2 separate regions of the Homo sapiens genome follow, and region 2 is linked to region 1. The links are contacts of gene promoters, found by promoter capture Hi-C in blood cells and fetal thymus (Javierre and others, 2016). All regions are on one chromosome and are shown on one strand. Each heading gives the region's core, a stretch centred on a gene start or on the middle of the fragment in contact. The rest is flanking DNA. Distances are from core to core; before and after follow the strand shown.

The links. Contacts are between HindIII fragments. The CHiCAGO score rates a contact against its expected background, and 5 or more counts as called.
Region 2: a fragment that was not itself captured here is called in contact with the fragment with the promoter of COPS3 in region 1 in 1 of 17 cell types (fetal thymus); the score reaches 5.7 in fetal thymus.

What each region holds. Positions count from the first base shown.
Region 1 is chr17:17,277,561-17,284,099 of GRCh38, reverse strand. COPS3 (COP9 signalosome subunit 3) reads left to right here and starts at 2,854. Exons shown (of 12, transcript NM_003653.4): 1 at 2,854-2,968. The coding sequence starts at 2,914. RefSeq lists enhancers at 2,657-2,756, 3,407-3,466 and a silencer at 2,977-3,216. The HindIII fragment of the contact is 7,073 bases long and covers 1-4,712 here.
Region 2 is chr17:18,034,385-18,040,923 of GRCh38, reverse strand. It overlaps ATPAF2 (ATP synthase mitochondrial F1 complex assembly factor 2), which reads left to right and starts at 1,756. Exons shown (of 8, transcript NM_145691.4): 1 at 1,756-2,043. The coding sequence starts at 1,911. GID4 (GID complex subunit 4 homolog) reads right to left here and starts at 1,516. Exons shown (of 6, transcript NM_024052.5): 1 at 1,022-1,516. The coding sequence starts at 1,459. RefSeq lists enhancers at 508-567, 1,718-1,827, 1,968-2,017, 2,028-2,097 and silencers at 918-1,507, 1,518-1,607. The HindIII fragment of the contact is 346 bases long and covers 2,286-2,631 here.

The DNA.
Region 1 (6,539 bases), core at 1,605-4,104:
ACAATAGGCATGCACCACCACAACCAGCTAGTTTTTAAAATTTTTTTTGTAGAGACAAAGTCACGCTGTGTTGTCTAGGCTGGTCTCGAACTCCTGGTAAGAGTAAAACTATTAGCATTCAAGGTATAATTATTTAAAGTATAATTATTACTATTCTATTTTATGTTGACTATTGCAATAGCTTCCTGTCTCCCAAGTTATCCATGTGAAGCCAGACAAATCTTTTTAAAATGCAATTTTTGTTGTTGTTGTTTTGTTTTTTGAAGTTGAGTCTCTTTTTATTGTCCAGTCTGGAGTGCAGTGGCCTGATCTCAGCTCACTGCAACCTCCACCTCCCTGGTTCAAGCGATTCTCCTGCCTCAGCTCCTGAGTAGCTGGGATTACAAGCACACGCCACCACACCCGGCTATTTTTTGTATTTTTACTAGAGACAGGATTTCATCTTTCTGGCCAGGCTGCTCTTGAACTCCTGACCTCGTGATCCACCCACCTCAGCCTCTCAAAGTGCTGGGATTACAGGCGTGAGCCACCACGCCCGGTCCTAAAACGCAAATTTGATCCTGCCACCGCTTGCATAAAACTCTCCAGTCCTCCCAATCTTCTCAGGAAAAAGTCCAGTACCTTTAACACAGCTTACATGACCTGGCCCCTGTCCACCTTACAAACTACTCCCCTCCAACCACAAGGACATTCTTTCAGTTCTTCATTCTCAACTAGCATGCTCCTTTCACTTGCAGGGTCTTAGCACCATACTGTCCTCTCACTCAGAAATATTCCTTCCCCCTTATCTTATTAACTCTTCCTCTTTCTTCGTTGCTCAGTTTATGCCATTTCCTCAAGAAAGCCTTCCCTGTTTCTCCCAAGCCAGGTCAATCTCCTCTGTGACATGATTTTATAGAACCATGTTCCATTCCTTCAGACCACTAACTCCTTTTATCTAGGGTCTTCATGTGTTGTCTGCAGGAGAGAAGGACCGAAACTGTTTTGTTTTGTTTTGTTTTGTTTGAGTCAGATTCTTGCTCTGTCGCCCATGCTGGAGTGCAGTGGTGCCATCTCGGCTCACTGCAACCTCCACTTCCCGGGTTCAAGAGGTTTTCCCATCTCAGCCTCCCGAGTAGTTGGGACTACAGGTACCCATCACCAAGCCCAGCTAATTTTTGTAGTATTTTTAGTAGAGATGGCTTTTCACCATGTTGGCCAGGCTGGTGTCCAACCCCTGACCTCAAGTGATCCACTTGCTTCAGTCTCCCAAAGTGCTGGATTACAAGCGTGAGAGACTGCACCAGGCCCCAAGACTGTTTTTACTACCACTGTATTTCTAGTGCCTGGTACAACACATTGTAAGTGTCAGTAAACATATGTTGGATAAAATTTTAAAATGCATGTTTATTTTCTCAGTCCCTACTATGCAGCAAATCCTATGCTGGGCCCTAAAGGGGAACCAAGGTTAGTAAGAGAAATGCTTGACCTTAAGGAACTCCATGCCAGTTAGAAGCAATGGATCCGTAAACCAAAAGTATCTGAGACCAGTCTCAATCGAGAAAGTTTATATTGCCAAGGTGAAGGATGCGATGATAACACGGCCTCAGGAGCTCCTCAGGACATGTGCCCAAGGTGCGGGTACAGTTTGGTTTTATACATTTTAGGGAGACATGAGTCATCGATCAATACATGTAAGATGTACGTTGGTTAGGATCGGAAAGACGGGCTAACTCGGGGCAGTGGGGGGCTTCTACCTTATAGGTAGACTTAAAGATTTTTTGATTGGTAATTGGTTGAAAGAGTTATTATCTAAAGACCTGGAAGTAAATAGAAAGAAATATCTGGGTTATGATTATAAGGGGTTGTGGAGACCAAGGTTTTATCATGCAGATGAGGCTTCCAGGTAGCCTGCTATTCAGACAGAATAGATTGTAAATATTTCTTATCAGTCTTGAGTCTACCAGTCTTAAGGTCTCTGTGTTGATGTTTGTGAGGCATGTCTGACTACCACTTCCCATCATGGCCTGAACTAGTTTTTCAGGATAAATTGGAATGTCCTTGGCTTCAGATAGGGTCCACCAGTCAGTTGGGGGGCTTAGACTTTTATTTTTGGTTTACAGATATCACATGGACTATAGAGACACATTTCTGTAACAGAGTAGAAGTGCAACATGAGAAGAACAAAGTGCTTTAGGCGACAAGCGGAGGAGGGAGACATCAATCCCAGATGGGAAAAATCAATTCACTTTCTGTGTGTGGTGTTACTTATTTATTTATTTTTTGCAGGGAAGGGATCGATTCATTCAACGTACACCTTGAATGAATAACTATAGTTCTCCCTACGTCCTATGCACTGTCCTAAGTGTTTTACGTGGTTAAGGACACTAAGATTTTACAGATGGGGAAAACAATGCACACGACAGTCAAGTGACCCGCTCAACGTCACACAGCTACTAAGTGGTAGAAAAGGCAGTTGAACCCAGGCTGCTTGGCTCCAGAGTCTAATATCACGGGGAAAACCTCACGGGAGACGTGGCAACGAAGTTGTGCTTCATTGAAGTATCTGTCCAGGTGGAAAACCGCAGGGCCTCTCTAGCAAAATCCAGAACCAGAAAATACTTGCTTAATTATGAGTTTCCTTCCTTCTTTTGCCCACTATCCCCATTTAACCTGCGGAGGGATTTCAGAAGTGCAGTGAATAAAGATGCAGGGGACTATGGAACACTAATTTCCGGCTACGGCGAATTCAGGCTGTTTCCATGGAAACAGTAACGGGTGGGCAGCTAGGTATAGTCTCGCGGTGCTTGAACCAGCGGAAGTGACGTCGCCGCTCGCGAGGACCTCAGGTGGATCGCCGCGGCCCCTCCTCCCAGAGCGGCAGCCTTTTCCCGCGCGTGCTGCCTTCGCCGCTCGGGCCGCCCGGGGGAAAACATGGCGTCTGCCCTGGAGCAGTTCGTGAACAGTGTCCGACAGCTCTCAGCTCAAGGTAACGCCCTAGGCCGCCGGGCTGGGCATGGGCGGGTACCGGGAACTGGCCTGGATCCCCAGGCGCCAGCACGGACGGCTGGAACAGCCCTTTTAGTCCTGAGACTCTTCTCCGGGGCCGGGCTTGGGGTTGCGGCGTTTAGATCAGGGCAGGATCGAGCGCGGCCGAGTGTAGGCAGCCCCCTCGCGCTCCGCTGTCCTCGCCGGCCGGCCTCCCCTCCCTCGGGCCGCCGGGAGCCCCCTCCCCCCGGCCTGGGCCCCTTCCACCGGGCGCTTTGCTTGACAGTTTGGGGGCGTGACTTCCGCCAGGAGCCATCTCGGGCGACTATTGGTTCCTTCTGTCTCTCTTGCCTTCGGTGATTGGCGCACCGCCATGTCATCTTTGCCGCCGATCCGCAGCTTGCTGACTAGGCCGCCGGGAGCGGGCGGGAGGCGAGTCCGTTCTGGGTGTCTTGGCTCTATGGCTCGCCTCTGCCAGCTCCTCCGCTGCCAGGCGGCGCACGCTCGGGAACCTGTGCGCCTATTTTGGTCCTACAGAATGCTGCGGAAGCTCTCGCTCGTAGGACTCCATTTCTTCTTCTTTGTTTTTTTTTAGCCGAGGCTGGAGTGCAGTGGCGCGATCTCGGCTCACTGCAACCTCAGCCTCCCGGCTTCAAGCGATTCTCCTGTCTCAGCCTCCCGAGTAGCTGAGATTACAGGCGCCCGCCAGCTCACACGGCTTTTTTTTTTTTTGAGACGGAGTCTCACTGTCTCCCAGGCTGGAGTGCAGTGGCGCGGTCTCGGCTCACCTCAACCTTCGCCTTCGAGGTTCAAGCGATTCTCCTGTCTCAGCCTCCCGAGTAGCTGGGATTACAGGCGCCTGCCCGGCTAATTTTTGTATTTTTAGTAGAGACAGGGTTTCACCATGTTGGCCTGGCTGGTCTCGAACCTTGATCTCAGGTGATCCACTGGCCTCGGCCTCCCAAAGTGCTGGGATTACAGGCATGAGCCACCGCGGCCAGCCCACGCGGCTAATTTTTTCGTATTTTTAATAGAGATGGGGTTTTTACCATGTTGGCCAAGCTGGTTTCGAACTCCTCACCTGAAGTGATCCGCCCACCTCGGCCTCCCAAAGTGCTAGGATTACAGGCGTGAGCCACTGCGCCCGGCCAGGACTCCATTTCTAGGGGTAGAATTGTGATGATTTTACTCGCACTTTCCAGGTTGTTTGGTTCATTCATTGCGTATGAATGTACCGAATTCTGGACCTGAAATTCGAATGATTAGATGCTGGCTGTGAAGGCCCTTTTAACTATCCCGTGCTTCAGTTTCTTCGTCTGCAAAATAAGTCCCTAGTTTATGTAGAGTTGTGAAGATTCAATGAGAGAAACCATGTAAAAGCAGTTGGAACAGTGCCTGTCATAAGGGGTGCAATAAATATAGCTGCAAATTATTGTTACCGTCATTAATTGCAAAGTTCTAGGAGCTGCTTGACCTTGGACAAATAACCTTTAATCTCTGAGTCTTTTGCATCTCCATTGTAAAAATGGAGGGGTGCTTTTACCTCACTGGTGTAAGACAAATGGTCTGATATGGAGCTGCACTTAATAAGAATTCTTCCTCTTTTTCCTTTTTATTAATAGAAATGAGGTTCACAGGGAAGGCACAGGCTTGCCTTTTCTATGAATAAAGGAACCACTGGTTTGTTAATTTATTCGACAAATACTTAGTGTTCTCCTTCCTGGGGTGTAGTGTAGTTAGAAGCTTCAGGTTGAAATCCTGTCGCGGTCACTTCTTGGGTGAACCACTTAATTTCCCTGGGCCAATTTTCTTAATTACAAAACAGAACTAGGGCTGTTGTGGTCTTCAGGTTATAGGATGCTATAGGAACAGTCTGCTAGACAGAGATAAATATGGTAACTTTCATTGCTGTCGGCTACTGTGCCTCACACTCACTGGATAGGAAATCTTTGAGTTTCAGGCCAGGCGCAGTGGCTCACTCCTGTAATTCCAGCACTTTGGGAGGCCGAGGCGGGCGGATCATCTGAGGTCAGGAGTTCAAGACCACCCTGGCCAACATGGTGAAACCCTGTCTCTACTAAAAATGCAAAATTAGCCAGGCATGGTGGCGGGCGCCTGTAATCTCAGCTACTCGGGAGGCTGAGGCAGGAGAATGGCATGAACCTGGGAGGTGGAGCTTGCAGTGAGCCAAGATCGCGCCACTGCCCTCCAGTCTGGGTGACAGAGCAAGACTCCGTCTCAAAAAAAAAAAAAAGAAAAAAAAGAATTTTATTGGCCACATCTCTGGTTACACTGATTTCAAATGCACTCTGTGACACTTAAACTTTTTTTTTTTACTCTGCCCTTGGCCCTGCACTAATTAATTATCTGGTGATTTCATAGTGACCCAGCTTTTATTTCAGTCTCAACTGGGCACTGATTGTTAACTAGTAGAGAACTAATGGATTGCAATGCTTATTTCTGGGTGTTACAAATTATTGTTAATATATTTAGAGTAATGGTTTACAAAGGCAAATTATTCAACTAGAAGTTACTTCATACCTACCAGTGAGATCTGTAATACAATGATGATGAGTTGGTATTTCCCAGTTAAATCTGTGTGATCTCAAGAGGTGACACCTAATAAGATCACAGCTGTTTTATTCTTGTTTTGTAATGCATGTATAATAATGATACATTTCCTTTGCTTTCAGTAAAATGTATCAAATTGAAAAGTGTTAAATTATCAAAAGTACCTAGCTATAGTCACTTGTATTTTAAGCATTATACTATGTTGTATTCTTTTAGTAAGGAAAAGATTATGCAGTTGCTCTGTAGAAATAGAGAAGTTGGAAACTTGAGGTTAATGCCCATGGACTTAAATATATCCTCACTGTTACCAGAAAGACAGAGTGTGACCATGGTATCTGTCATGACAGTAATTGTCAAAATTGATGGGTCTACTTAAAGGTACCAATTCAGGCCTAATTTTTTTTTTCCCCCGAAACGGAGTCTTGCTCTGTTGCCCAGGCTGGAGTACAGTGGCGCAATCTCAGCTCACTGCAGCCTCCATCTCCCGGGTTCAAGGATTGTCCCAGGTTAAAGGATTCTCCCACCTCAGCCTCCCGAGTAGCTGGGATTACAGGTGTGTGCCACCACACCCAGCTAATTTTTGTATTTTTAGTGGAGACAGGGTTTCACCATGTTGGCCAGCCTGGTCTTGAACTCCTGACCTCGAGATATCTGCCCACCTTATCCTCCCAAAGTGCTGGGATTACAGGTGTGAGCCAGCCTGGTCTTGAACTCCTGACCTCGAGAGATCTGCCCACCTTATCCTCCCAAAGTGCTGGGATTACAGGTGTGAGCCACAGCACCCGGCTGAGGCCTAATTATTAATAGATTCTGTACCTTAGTTGTTAAAATGTAGCATTGCAGGCTGAGTGTGGTGGCTCATGCCTCTAATCCCAGCACTTTGGGAGGCCAAGGTGGGAGGATTGCTTGAGCCCAGGAGTTAGAGACCAGACTGGGCAACATAGTGAGACCCCTGTCTCTGCAAAAAACTTAAAAAATAAGATGGGCATGGTGACGTACAC
Region 2 (6,539 bases), core at 1,209-3,708, 760 kb before region 1:
TACTTCCGAAGCTGATCAGGGACTGGCAGCAGGTATTCAGGAATCCAGGTCAAATGGGGGGAGGCGACTGGACATGAACTAAAATTGGGTGAGTTAGATTTCCCAGTACATGGGTACCAGAGACTAAGAGGAAGCCCTGTGCCTGTGTAGAGAAAAGTTAAGAACAGGAAAGAGGGTCCCCTGGAACCAGGATCGAGCAAGACGAAGGTATGGGGTGGGGAAGTCTGGATAGAGGCCAGGAAGACTGGGAAAAGACTGCAAATGGTCCCAGAGCAGGGGCAGGAGGCCTGGGGGTGGAGAAGCTGGAAGGAGCTGGGTGCCTGGACCATGAAGAGACAGAAGCAGTGAGTGGAACAGGGGACCCAGGAGGCAACATCCCAACAGACTGTGAGCAGCACTCAGGGAGTGAGTGCCTGGTCTTGAGGTGAGGCCAGGGCCTGACCAATCAGTTGCGGGTTAGGTGCTCCCCCGTCTGGGGGTCTGATGAAGCCCTCCTAAGGAGATCTCAGGAGGAGGAAGACCCCAAGGTCTGCGGATTCCTGGAACTGAGGAAGGGGCAGGAGGACATGTCTCAGGTCTGAGAGAATCTGACGTGGGCCCAGACATGGGGAGGGTCCCAAGTCTGGTGAAACCAATGGAGAGTTCTTCAGGGTCTGAAAAGGGCTGGTGGCAGTCCCTGATCTAGGGACGACAGGTCATGGGGAGGAAGGACCCAGGCCTTCTCCGAGTCATGAGGGGCTTCCGGATCCCAGACGGGCCGGTCACGGGCTTCAAGTCTGGGAGTGTTCGGGGTCCGCCAGGAGCCGGTCACGACGGGCTCTGGGTCCGAAGGGGCAGGTCAGGGCTGGGGCTCGGAGAGTGTGAGACACAGGCTGGGAAGGTCCCGGGTGGGAAGCGCCGGGTGCAGGAGGCCCCGGCGGCGAGGGCCTGTTCCGCGGCTGCGGGGTCGAGGAGCCGAAGCGGGCACGGCCCGTGAGCGCCGCGAGGAGGCCCTCGGGCCCCGGCCCGGCCCGGCGCTCACCTGCAGCACCACCTCTACGTCGTACGAGTTCCCCTTGCTCTTCTGGTGGCCGCGGAACTTGGAGCCGCTGTAGAGCAGGCTGGTGGCCACGCCGGGCTGCTGGGTGTTGATGGGCGGCGGCGGGATGAGTGAGGCCGCGGAGGCAGCGGAGGCACCGGCCGGCGGGGGACACTCGGTGCGGACCGGCATCGCGGGGTCCCCCGGAGCCAGGGCTGGGGGGAGTGGGAGAGGAACCGCCGCCGCCGCGCGGGAGCCGAGGAGGGTGGCGGGGAGGGAGAGGCCGGGGCGCGCACGCGCGGGGTGGGGGCGGGAGGGGCGACCACCCGCCCGCTGCCTGCGGAGCAAGCGCTCCGGCCGCCACCGGGACCCAGGGACCTGCGAGCAGGGCCTCCCAGTCCTGAGCTGGGTCCCCCTCCCGACTTGCCCTCGCGCACACATACACACACACAGACACTCACAGACACACAACACACAAACACACACAGACACACACACACCCCGCCCCTTCCGATTGGCTCAGGCGAGCCTGGGGGGCGGGAGCAGGCTCAGGCGGCGCTTCCGCCCATTGGCGGGAGGAGAAAACACGTGGCGCGGTGCGCGAGCGGCCCGCTGGGACTTGTAGTCTCCTCGCCGAGGCGCGGCGTGGAGGGGGCGGGGCGAGGTGCGTTTGTGATGCTGATTGACTGGGGGTGTGCGCAGGAGGCGCGCGGCGGCGACGGCGCGCCGTAGGTGTCATGCGGAAGATGGCGGCGTCCAAGGGAGGTTGAGGGCTCTGAGGAGGCGTTGAGAGGTTTCCGTACAGCCCGACCGTGCGGCTTTGGGGATCCCATCGCTCTGTGTTTCCTGCTCCAGGTTTCGCGTCTCGCATCTTCCCAGACCCTCGGGCGCGATGTGGAGGAGCTGCCTCCGGCTGCGGGACGGGGGACGCCGTCTCCTGAATCGGCCGGCGGGTGGCCCCAGCGCTTCTATGAGTCCGGGGCCAACCATCCCGTCTCCAGCCCGGGCTTACGCCCCGCCGACAGGTAAGACCATGACATGTTCTTTTGGGTTGGGGCCGAGCTGGGGTAAGGTGGGCTTCGGGCTTCGGCTGTGCAAAGCGAAGTAACTGAGGCAGGGTTCAGGCTCATGAGGTTATGCAGGCCAGTCAGGTCTTTTTACAGATGAGAAAGTGAAGCCCAGACAAGGGCAGACGACCCGAGAGGGAACAGCGAGTCACGCACGATACAGTAATTGATATTTGGCCTGTGCAGGTTTTCTCAAAGCTTATGGCTGCCCTCCCTTTAATAAGGAAAGCAGGTGTCATCTTTGTTTTCAAAAGGGGAAGTTTGGGCTCTGAATCAGGACTTCGTCTGGGTTACAGGCAGACTCTCTCAGAGGTTTGTGGTGTCTGTCTGACTGTTTTCCGTGTCTCCACTGCCCAACACAAGACCTGCCCAGAAGGGACCTAGAACCTGGGCCTTCATTCCTCCATCCCGGGCACTTCTGCTGCAGGTTTCCTGACTTTCCCTCCTACCACAACCTCTGCCATCTGCAGCCTTCTCTCCTAAATAGAAATTGACACCTCCACCTCTGACTGTGGAGTCACCTCCACCTCCAACTCTGATGAAGCTTAGAAGTAGTGGCTCTTTCATTGCTGATGGTGAGTGGTGTCAGGGTAAGAGTGAGAATGACTCATTTCAGTGAATGAAGAGCAGTAACACCCTCCCACCATTCAATTAGTTTTATTGTGCTGGAGGCAGGAGGCACGGTTGTCTTTAAGACCCACCTGTATGTATTGGTAGAGAAGCTCAATTAAAGAAGAAAAAGGCCCACCTGAATGATGTTCACTGTTCATTGCAAAAGGTTATAATATTCTGATTAAATTGTGGTTTATAATATCCTGATAAGGGACATACAAAGAAACTGTGAGAACACAGAGAATCGCTTACTCCCATCTTGGGGATGTTCAGGGTTTAGAATGGGTCTTGGGTGAAAGGGCGTTTGTTTAAGCTGAGCCATGATAGATGAGTAGGAGTTCAGCAAAAAGGTGGGAGAGTGTTGGGTATCTAGAACGTGTCCAGGGTGACAGCAAGGTATGAGGGACTTTTCCCTGACACTGCCTGTTTTAGAAAATCCAGAACTTCACAGGCAGTTTGGCATTGTGGCAGGAGTGCAAATCTAGGATCTGATGCTGGCTGAACCTCTGAGGTCTGTGTGATCTTGGGCATGCAACTACTTCCTCATTTTTCTCCATGCGTTGAAGTACTAGGTTGCCTTTGAGGATCTTTCTGGCTGTCAAGTTCTTTTTTTTTCTTCTTCTTCTGTTTTTTTGTGTTTTTTTGAGACGGAGTCTCCTCTGTCACAGAGGCTGGAGTGCAGTGGCACCATCTCGGCTCACTGCAACCTCCGCCTCCCAGATTCAAGCGATTTTGTGGTCTCAGCCTCCCAAGTAGGTGGGACTACAGGCGTCTGCCACCATGCCCTGCTAATTTTTGTATTTTTAGTAGAGATGGGGTTTATATTGACTAGGCTGGTCTCGAACTCCTGACTTTGTGACCCGCCCACCTCGGCCTCCCAAAGTGCTGGGATTACAGGCGTGAGCCACCGCGCCCAGCCAAGTTCTATAACTTTATAGAAATGGGGAAGGGGGCTGGATGCAGCAGGGAGCTGAAGTTTCACCTGCAGGACTCAGGGGAAGGGCCTGGAAATGGGCCATGAAGGGCCAGTAAAGAAGAGAAAGGAAGGGCATCCCAGGGAGGCATAGCAAAGGGGACACATTCAGGAGTTCACCAAGTTGGCAAAAAGCAAAGGGTTAATTAATTTATTTATTTACGTATTTATTTATTTATTTTGAGATGGAGTTTTACACTTGTCACCCAGGCTGGCATGCAATGGTGTGATCTTGGCTCACTGCAACCTCTACCTCCCAGATTCAAGCAATTCTCCTGCCTCAGCCTCCCAAGTAGCTGGGATTACAGGTGTCCGCCACCACACGTGGCTAATTTTGTATTTTTAGTAGAGATGGGGTTTCACCATGTTGGCCACACTGGTCATGAACTCCTGACCTCAGGTGATCCTCCCGCCTCAGCCTCCCAAATGCTGGGATTACAGGCGTGAGCCACCATGCCTGACCACAAAGGGTTAATTTAGATTTGTGGATGCTCACTTTACATAATGGTGGCACTTGATCTACTGCCTTCTTTTCCTTTTTAAAAAGCCTAAACTTACTAGTTAGGCTCTTGGAAGTACCTGGCACATGGTAGGTAGTCAAATGTGAAAGAAAATAGGAATGAATGAATGAGAAGGGAGGTGCATAAATCAGGCCCATGCATGCTTTTTTTTTTTTTTGAGACAGAGTCTTGCACTGTCACCCAGGCTGGAGTGCAGTGGCGCAATCTTGGCTCACTGTAAGCTCCGCCTCCCGGGTTCACGCCATTCTCCTGCCTCAGCGTCCCGAGTAGCTGGGACTACAGGTGCCCACCACCACACCTGGCTAATTTTTTTGTATTGTCAGTAGAGACGGAGTTTCACCATGTTAGTCTGGATGGTCTCGATCTCCTGACCTCATGATCCACCCTCCTCAGCCTTCCAGAGTGCTGGGATTACAGGCATGAGCCACCGCGCCCGGCCCCCGACCCCCACGTGTTCTCTCTAAAGACCTTACCAGTTGTGAGATATTTGTGCGTATTTGAAGTAGTAGAAGATTAAACCGCAGTGGGTTCTTCTCAATGAACACTTCAGTCAGCAAGCTGATTGAACTTGGCCACTTAGGAATGGCCATGCCATTGAAGGTTATCAGAAGGAGAGGAGGAGTTTACGAAAGGGTCACTGAGGTGTTGGAGAAGGAGATATTGCAACAAGAAGACCTATATGAGGTTGTTGTGGCAGTTTAGTTCTGCACCAGCTTATCAGAGGTCTATTGACTCCCAGAGTGGCAGGTGTTCTGGAGAAACCTATCTATTCAGCGTATCTGGCTGAATGCAACTGCCTGATGAAGTCAAGGCTAGAAGTCTTGTCTCTGCTATTTACCAGTTGTCTGTCACCAAGACAAGATGTTTAGCTTCTCTATCACCTCCGAGGCATTAGCTGCCTTGTCATCCTCATAGAATAGTGGTGTGGATTGAGGGAGATTATGTAGTCTGTAGATCAGGGTCCAGCCTGCCACCTGTTTTTGTAAATAGAGTTTTATTGGAACACAGCCACATGCATTCATTTACATATCATCTATGGCTACTTTCACTACAGTGGCAGAGTTGAATAGTTGGAACAGATATTGTATGGCTTGCAAAGCTTAGAATATTTACTATCTGATTCTTTGCAGAAAAAGTTTGCTAAATGTTATACATTTGGCCTGAAGGATTTTTTTAACAGCTTTATTGAGATATTTACTTGCTATACAATTCATTTACTTGAAGTGTAAATATAATAGTTTTTAGTATATTTACAGAATTGTACAGCCATTGCCACAATCAATTTTAGAACATTTTTATCACCCTTAAAAGAAACCTGCACCCTTTAGCTATCATCCACCCTTACTACTTCCATCCCTTGGCAACTACTACTTTCCTTTGTTCTTTTATAGATTTCCCTGTTTGGGACATTTTATATAAATAGAATGTGGTCTTTTTTGACTGACTTTTTCACTTAGCATAATGTTTTAAAGTTTGGGTTTTTTTTGTTTTTTTTTGTTTTTAAGAGATTGGGTCTCATTCTGTTGCCCAGGCTGGAGTGTAGTGGCACGATCACAGCTCACTGTAACCTCAAACTCCTGGGCTCAAGTGATCCTCCTGCCTCAGCCTCCCAAGTAGCTAGGGCTACAGGCACACACCACCATGCCCGGCTAGCTTTTTAGTGCTTTGTAGAGATGGGGTCTTGCTCAGGCTGACCTCAAACTCCTGGCCTCAAGTGATCCTCCTGCTTCGGCCTTCCAGAGTGCTGGGATTACAGGAGTGAGCCACCATGACCAAACGTTTTTAAGTTTTATCCACCTTGTATCATGTATCAATGACTCCATTCTTCTTTATTGCCAAACAATATTCCATTGTATGTGTAAATATGCCACATTTTACTTATCCATTCATCCATTGGTGGACACAGGGTCGTTTCTACCTTTTGGCTAATATGAATAACGCTACTATGAACATTCATGTACAAGTTTTTGTGTGGACATATGTTTTCATTTCTCTTGGACATATACCTAAGAGTAGAATTACTGGGTCAAATGGTAACTCTGTTTAACTTTTGGAGGATCTGCCAGACTGTTTTTCAAGGTGGCTGTGCCATTTCACATTTCCACCAGCAGTGTTTGAGGGGTCCAGTTTCTCTATATCTCAACACTTGTTGTTGTCTTTTTTATTACAGCTGTCCTAAAGGGTTTGAAGTGGTATCTCATTGTGGTTTTGATTTGCATTTCTCTGATGAATTATGTTGAGTATCTTTTCACGTGCTTAATGGCTATTTGTATATTTTCTTTGAAGAAACGTCTATTCAGATCCCTTGACCATTGTTTTTTTTTAAAGAGAGGGGGTCTTGCTCTGTC